Linked DNA regions of Homo sapiens: region 2 is linked to region 1. The links are contacts of gene promoters, found by promoter capture Hi-C in human tissues and cell types (Jung and others, 2019). All regions are on one chromosome and are shown on one strand. Each heading gives the region's core, a stretch centred on a gene start or on the middle of the fragment in contact. The rest is flanking DNA. Distances are from core to core; before and after follow the strand shown. Region 1 holds the start of DONSON (DNA replication fork stabilization factor DONSON). Region 2 overlaps EVA1C (eva-1 homolog C).

What was found. Contacts are between HindIII fragments. The study calls those that stand out against the background at their distance.
Region 2: a fragment that was not itself captured here is called in contact with the fragment with the promoter of DONSON in region 1 in 1 of the 25 tissues and cell types used here (dorsolateral prefrontal cortex).

What each region holds. Positions count from the first base shown.
Region 1 is chr21:33,587,337-33,590,036 of GRCh38, reverse strand. It overlaps DONSON (DNA replication fork stabilization factor DONSON), which reads left to right and starts at 1,353. Exons shown (of 10, transcript NM_017613.4): 1 at 1,353-1,716; 2 at 2,435-2,515. The coding sequence starts at 1,396. It overlaps CRYZL1 (crystallin zeta like 1), which reads left to right. Exons shown (of 13, transcript NM_145858.3): 13 at 116-696. The coding sequence ends at 215. RefSeq lists an enhancer at 1,165-1,664 and a silencer at 1,123-1,812. The HindIII fragment of the contact is 19,336 bases long and covers 1-2,700 here.
Region 2 is chr21:32,515,139-32,517,838 of GRCh38, reverse strand. EVA1C (eva-1 homolog C) reads right to left here. Exons shown (of 8, transcript NM_058187.5): 8 at 2,452-2,700. The coding sequence ends at 2,649. Among named protein-coding and RNA genes, the nearest start is that of TCP10L, 69 kb to the left of the region's middle. The HindIII fragment of the contact is 5,464 bases long and covers 1-2,700 here.

The DNA of each region.
Region 1 (2,700 bases), core at 104-2,603:
CAAAAAATTAATTAATACACTAATAGATTTGAGCACTAGCATTTGTCATATACCACCCTGTTTGTTCTACTTATCTTTAACTAGACCTGACATTTCTAATTTCATTCCTTCTCAGACCTCAGTTGGATGAACCCATTCCACTGTATGAGGCAAAAGTTTCCATGGAAGCTGTTCAGAAAAATCAAGGAAGAAAAAAGCAAGTTGTTCAATTTTAATTTTCTTCTTTCTCAGACCTCAGTCGGATGAACATATTCCAGTATTTGAAGCCAGAATTTTCTTTGGAAATTGTTGAGAAAAACCAAGGAAGATAAAACAAGTTGCATTTTTAAGCACGTTTCTCTGCTAAGACAAGATGCTCAGTTGACACATTTGAAAAGTGTTTGAAAAATTCTTGTGCAAATGATCAAGATAATTCTATAATTAACATCTTAAGGGAATTTTTCTAAAAACCTTTTCATTGTTTCTATATATTTTGCCCCTGCTATAAAATTCCTTCCATGAAGAAAACTGCTGCTTTCAGCAAAAGTCACACTACTCTTGATAAAAGCTGTTGCAGGCCTTTGCTAAGCTATCAAAGTAACGTATTAATTTTGTATCAACTCCGTTCTCAACACCTTCCTTAAGTCTTTGCTGTCATAATTTAAGCATTTGAGTATATTTTGAAGTCTTAAAAGACTTAGCCCATAGGCACTTAAATTTTGTGTTTTCAACTATTCATTCACTCCGGCTTTCCCCAGGATCAAAGAAGATCCCATTAACTTGCCAGTGGCAGCTGCCTGGAAGTCTGAGATGACCAGGCACTGGGAACGGGGAAGGGAGGGATGTCGGTAGGCTGCGCTGGCATAGGAAGCGTGCTGACGTCTTATCTGAGTTCTCTGGGGGTTGAGGAAGGTGGCCTAGTCCCCTCTCCTCGCCTCTTGAGAGCAGTAGCCACTGCCCTCTCTTAAGTTTATGGAAGCAGCAGCCCATCGCCGCAGCTCAAGTTTGTTTCCTTTTCATCCAGGCGCCAAACCCCGGGCTGATCACATCCCTGCTGCGGGCTTAAATAGAGTTAAGCTATTTCGGTGCCCCACAGGGTAGTGCACATCAGCGCCCTGGATCGCATACTTTCCAGAAGCGTCGCTGAACCTGGCGACTGGACTCTGGCCGAGGACCTGGCAGAAGCGCCAGGGCAGGGTCACCGCTGGGACAGTGGGCGTTGACGGCCACCCGGGATCGCCGCTGCGGGCTGCGTCTCGCGGGCTGCCCACTGCGCATGCTCCGCTCGGAACCGGCGGGGGCGGAGGCGGGGCCGCGTCGGGGGCGGGAGCTCGGCGAGGCGCCACGTCAGGGGCGGGCCCGGCGCGCGCGGGAAGTCTCTGTAGGGCGGCCGGCTACCCTCAGCCGCCGCGCGTCATGGCCCTTTCGGTGCCCGGCTACTCACCGGGCTTCCGAAAGCCGCCCGAGGTAGTGCGGCTCCGACGGAAAAGGGCCCGGAGCCGTGGAGCTGCCGCCTCCCCGCCCCGTGAGCTGACGGAGCCGGCGGCCCGCCGAGCCGCCCTGGTGGCGGGGCTGCCTCTTCGCCCTTTCCCTGCTGCGGGGGGCAGAGGCGGTGGCAGCGGCGGCGGCCCGGCCGCTGCTCGGAGGAACCCCTTCGCCCGCCTGGACAACCGACCGCGGGTCGCCGCGGAGCCCCCCGACGGGCCGGCCCGCGAGCAGCCGGAGGCCCCGGTCCCGGTGAGTGTCTTGTAGCCTGGCCGCCAAGGGGCTCTTGTCTTTCGTGGGTTGAGCCAGCTGTGAATGGGGGATGGAAAGTCCTCGCGTTCGAGGCAAGGAAATGGGCGCGAAGACTTCGGCCGCCCGTGGCCTTAGGGTACCCCGCCCTGGGAGCCGCGATTCTGGCAAGGCCGGGTTTGTGGGAAGAGCGCTCCCCTGGCTACCCCGCTGCGGGCTGTGCTCACGGGACGCGTTCCCGAGGAAAGTGAGGGGGCCCCAGAGGGCAGCGAGGAGCCCCTTGGAGAGGACTTAGAGGTGACTTGGAAAAGAGCTCGAAAAACCCTGAGAGCCCCCATCTTGCAAGGACGCTGTTCGATGGGGCAGGTGACAAGCCCTGCTTCCCCCGTGATTTAGGGCCTCCCTTCTCTCACGCACTCCAAATTATTCTGGAGATGGGGGAATGTCGAGGATTCGTGGGGTCAGAATTCACTAGCATCTGTCTTACCCAAAGCCTTTTGGATCTTTCGGTTTGAAACGCCGGTCCCTGTTCCCCTCAATTTTGATACTAAAGTTCAGACACAAAACTGAAGTGTTGAAACTCATAGATTGGATGGGGTGCCTCTGAATTTAGGTGTACTTGCGTTTATTGAGAAACATGTATGCCAGGTGAGGCTCTGTACATATTTAACGCAAACTTCAGCATCCTTTAAATTTTAAAGGAGAATATATTTAACCTCAGTTTTTAGATTCTAATCAAGAAAATGATTTGCTATGGGAAGAGAAGTTTCCTGAAAGAACAACTGTTACTGAATTACCTCAGGTAATACTTTTTAAATATCATTAGAATGTGTATTTGTATAAACTTTTTTTTCATAGGATTTGAGCCTATTTTTAAAAATACATTTATACTTCTCAGAAGCATTTTGCTTGGAAAGTAGTTTTACAGAGAGGCTTGATCATCTCAACCAGGGATGAAAATACCGCATCAGCCAAGGTAAAGGAGTT
Region 2 (2,700 bases), core at 69-2,568, 1.1 Mb after region 1:
TCAATCTCCACCCAAACCACCCCCAGCCCATCTGTATGACACCTCTCTTGGCCAATCCCTGCTCTCCCACCTGCAGGGGGCCTGTGTAAGGGAAGCTTGCTTTGAAATTGGCAGGTGTGGAGGGTAGAAGAGGGGGTGCCATTCTGACCCATCTTGACTTTCCCCTTCCTTCCACTGAGTGGACACACAGGATTTCCCACCAGCTCTGTCTGTAGTTGCTGCTTTGTGCTGGTGAAATGCCACACATGAACGTTCACAGCAGCACTATTCACAGTGGCCAAAGGAACCAGCCAAATGTCCACCAGCTGATGGCTGGATAAACAAACTGTGGGCTAGCCGTACAATGGAATATTATTCAGCCCTGAAAAGGAATGAACACATGCTACACTTGCTACAACATAGATGGATCTTGAGGACGTTATGTTAAGTGAAATGAGGCAGTCACAAGAGACTACATGTTGTGTGATCCCATCTACATGAACTATCCAGAACAGGCTAATCCATAGTGACAGAAAGCAAATTGGTGTTTTCCAGGGGCTGGAGGGAGGGAGGAATGGGGAGTGACTGCTTAACGGGCAGAGAGTTTTCTTTTGGGGTGATGAAATGTTTTGGAACTAGATAGAGGTGGTGTTTGCACAACATTGCAAATGGACTAAACGTCATTGAGAGAGTTAATTTTACATTATGTGGATTTCAACTTACTAAAAATGAATGCCAGAGTGGCAGCTGAGCCTCCTCACTCCACACCCACCCTCCTCTGCATCCTGCAGATAGGCCCTTCACCCTTATGGTCTGCAAGACTGAGAGAGACATGCCTTCTCCATACCTGTCACTGTAGGAGTTCCTGTGGGAACAGCTATGTTTCCTGAGCACTCAGGACGAGTCAGTCCCAGCACTTCCCAGCTGTGTGACGTGGGCTGGACGATACTTACCCTGGCGGCCTTCAGCTTCCTCATCTACATATGTTTATAGGGTTAGTGATGACGAAGTAAGATAATAAGATAACAGAGAGAGAGCTCTTTGGTAATAGGCATATGAAAAATGCAATCATGTTTATATTCTAAGCCCCTGGGATTACTAGGACAAAAAAGAAAAAAAACATGTTTTCTTATTTGATGCCACAGCTATAAGCCTCCTGTCTACCAGGGAGAGCCGTCTGCAGGAACCAATAATAAGTTCTCCCACTGGGGTCTGTTTTCTGAACTCTTTCTTCTGCTCCTCCACCCAGCCCTCCCCAAGTGGGGTAGGACCCTGTTTTTGGAGAGATTTGGGAGCCAGCTCCACTTGATCCTGGCCCACAGCACTGTTAGGTACCCTGGTTGATGGCTATTACCACCAGGGGCTCTGCTGTTTTAAACTCTAAACCAGGAGTCAGCAAACTTTTTTCTATAGAGGGCAAGAAAGTAAATATTTTAGGTTTTGCAAACCATACTTTATTTACAAAAACAGGTTACAGGCCAGCTCCATCCTGCTGTCTGTTTTTGTACAGCCTTTGAGTTAAGAATGTTTTTTTACATTTTTATTTATTTACTTTTATTTAAATTTTTTTTAATTAAATAGAGGTAGGGTCTTACTATGTTGCCCAGGCTAGTCTCGAACTCTTGGCCTCAGGCTTTTACATTTTTAAATGGCTGGTTTAAAAAAAAAAAAAAAAAGAAGAACGTGGAACATGTGAAAATAAAATGAAATTAAAATTCAGTGTCCAAAAAGAACGTTTTATTGGAATACAGCCAAGTTCATGCATTATGTAATATCTGTGGCTGCTTTTGAGCTGCAATGGAGAGTCGAGTAATTGTGGCAGAGAGGATTTGACCCACAATGCCTAAAATATTTATCATCTTGCTTTTTTTTTTTTGACAGTTTCTCACTCTGTCACCCAGGCTGGAGTGCAGTGGCACGACCTCAGCTCACTGCAACCTCTGCCTCCTAGGTTCAAGTGATTTCTCCTGCCTCAGCCTCCCAAGTAGCTGGGATTACAGGCGCGCACTACCACACCCAGCTAATTTTTTATTTTTTTGGTAGAGATGGGGTTTCACCGTGTTGGCTAGGCTGGTCTCGAACTCCTGACCTCAAGTGATCCACCTGCCTTGGCCTCCCAAAGTGCTGGGATTACAGGCATGAGCCACTGTGCCCAGCCTATCATCTTGCCTTTTAAGAAAAAGTTTGCTAACCGTTGGTCTAAACAAGTCAGTGGTTAAAATCACTCATGAGCTCATGTTTGCTGAGTATCTGTGTAACTGTTTTACGTGTATATATAGGAATCTTCTGTTTAGTCATCTGTAAAATGGGGGTAATAGTACCAGCTCATGACATTGTGAGGATTGAATGACTCAGAACATGAAAAGCAGTTAGAATAGCGCCTGGCATTATAAGCGCTCAACAAATGTAAATTCTAATTATGTATAACTTATTAATGTATAGACACAAATTCAAAGAAATACAGAAAACAAAGACTCTTCCCTCCTCATTTATTTTGGAATGTGCTAGAAACAGCTTGAAACATCCCTTTAATAGCTTCCTGGCCTCACGAGTGTTGAATGACATGACGAATTCTCCTTCATAGAAGGTACAGGTGAACCAGAACTGGAGGGGCATTTGGGATCCTTCCTTCTTCAGAAAGTGCGATCGCATCAAGATGCATGTGGTTTTCAGTAGAACTGGCCCATGTTTCTTGGGAGCGAGGTGTCCAAACCACTGTTC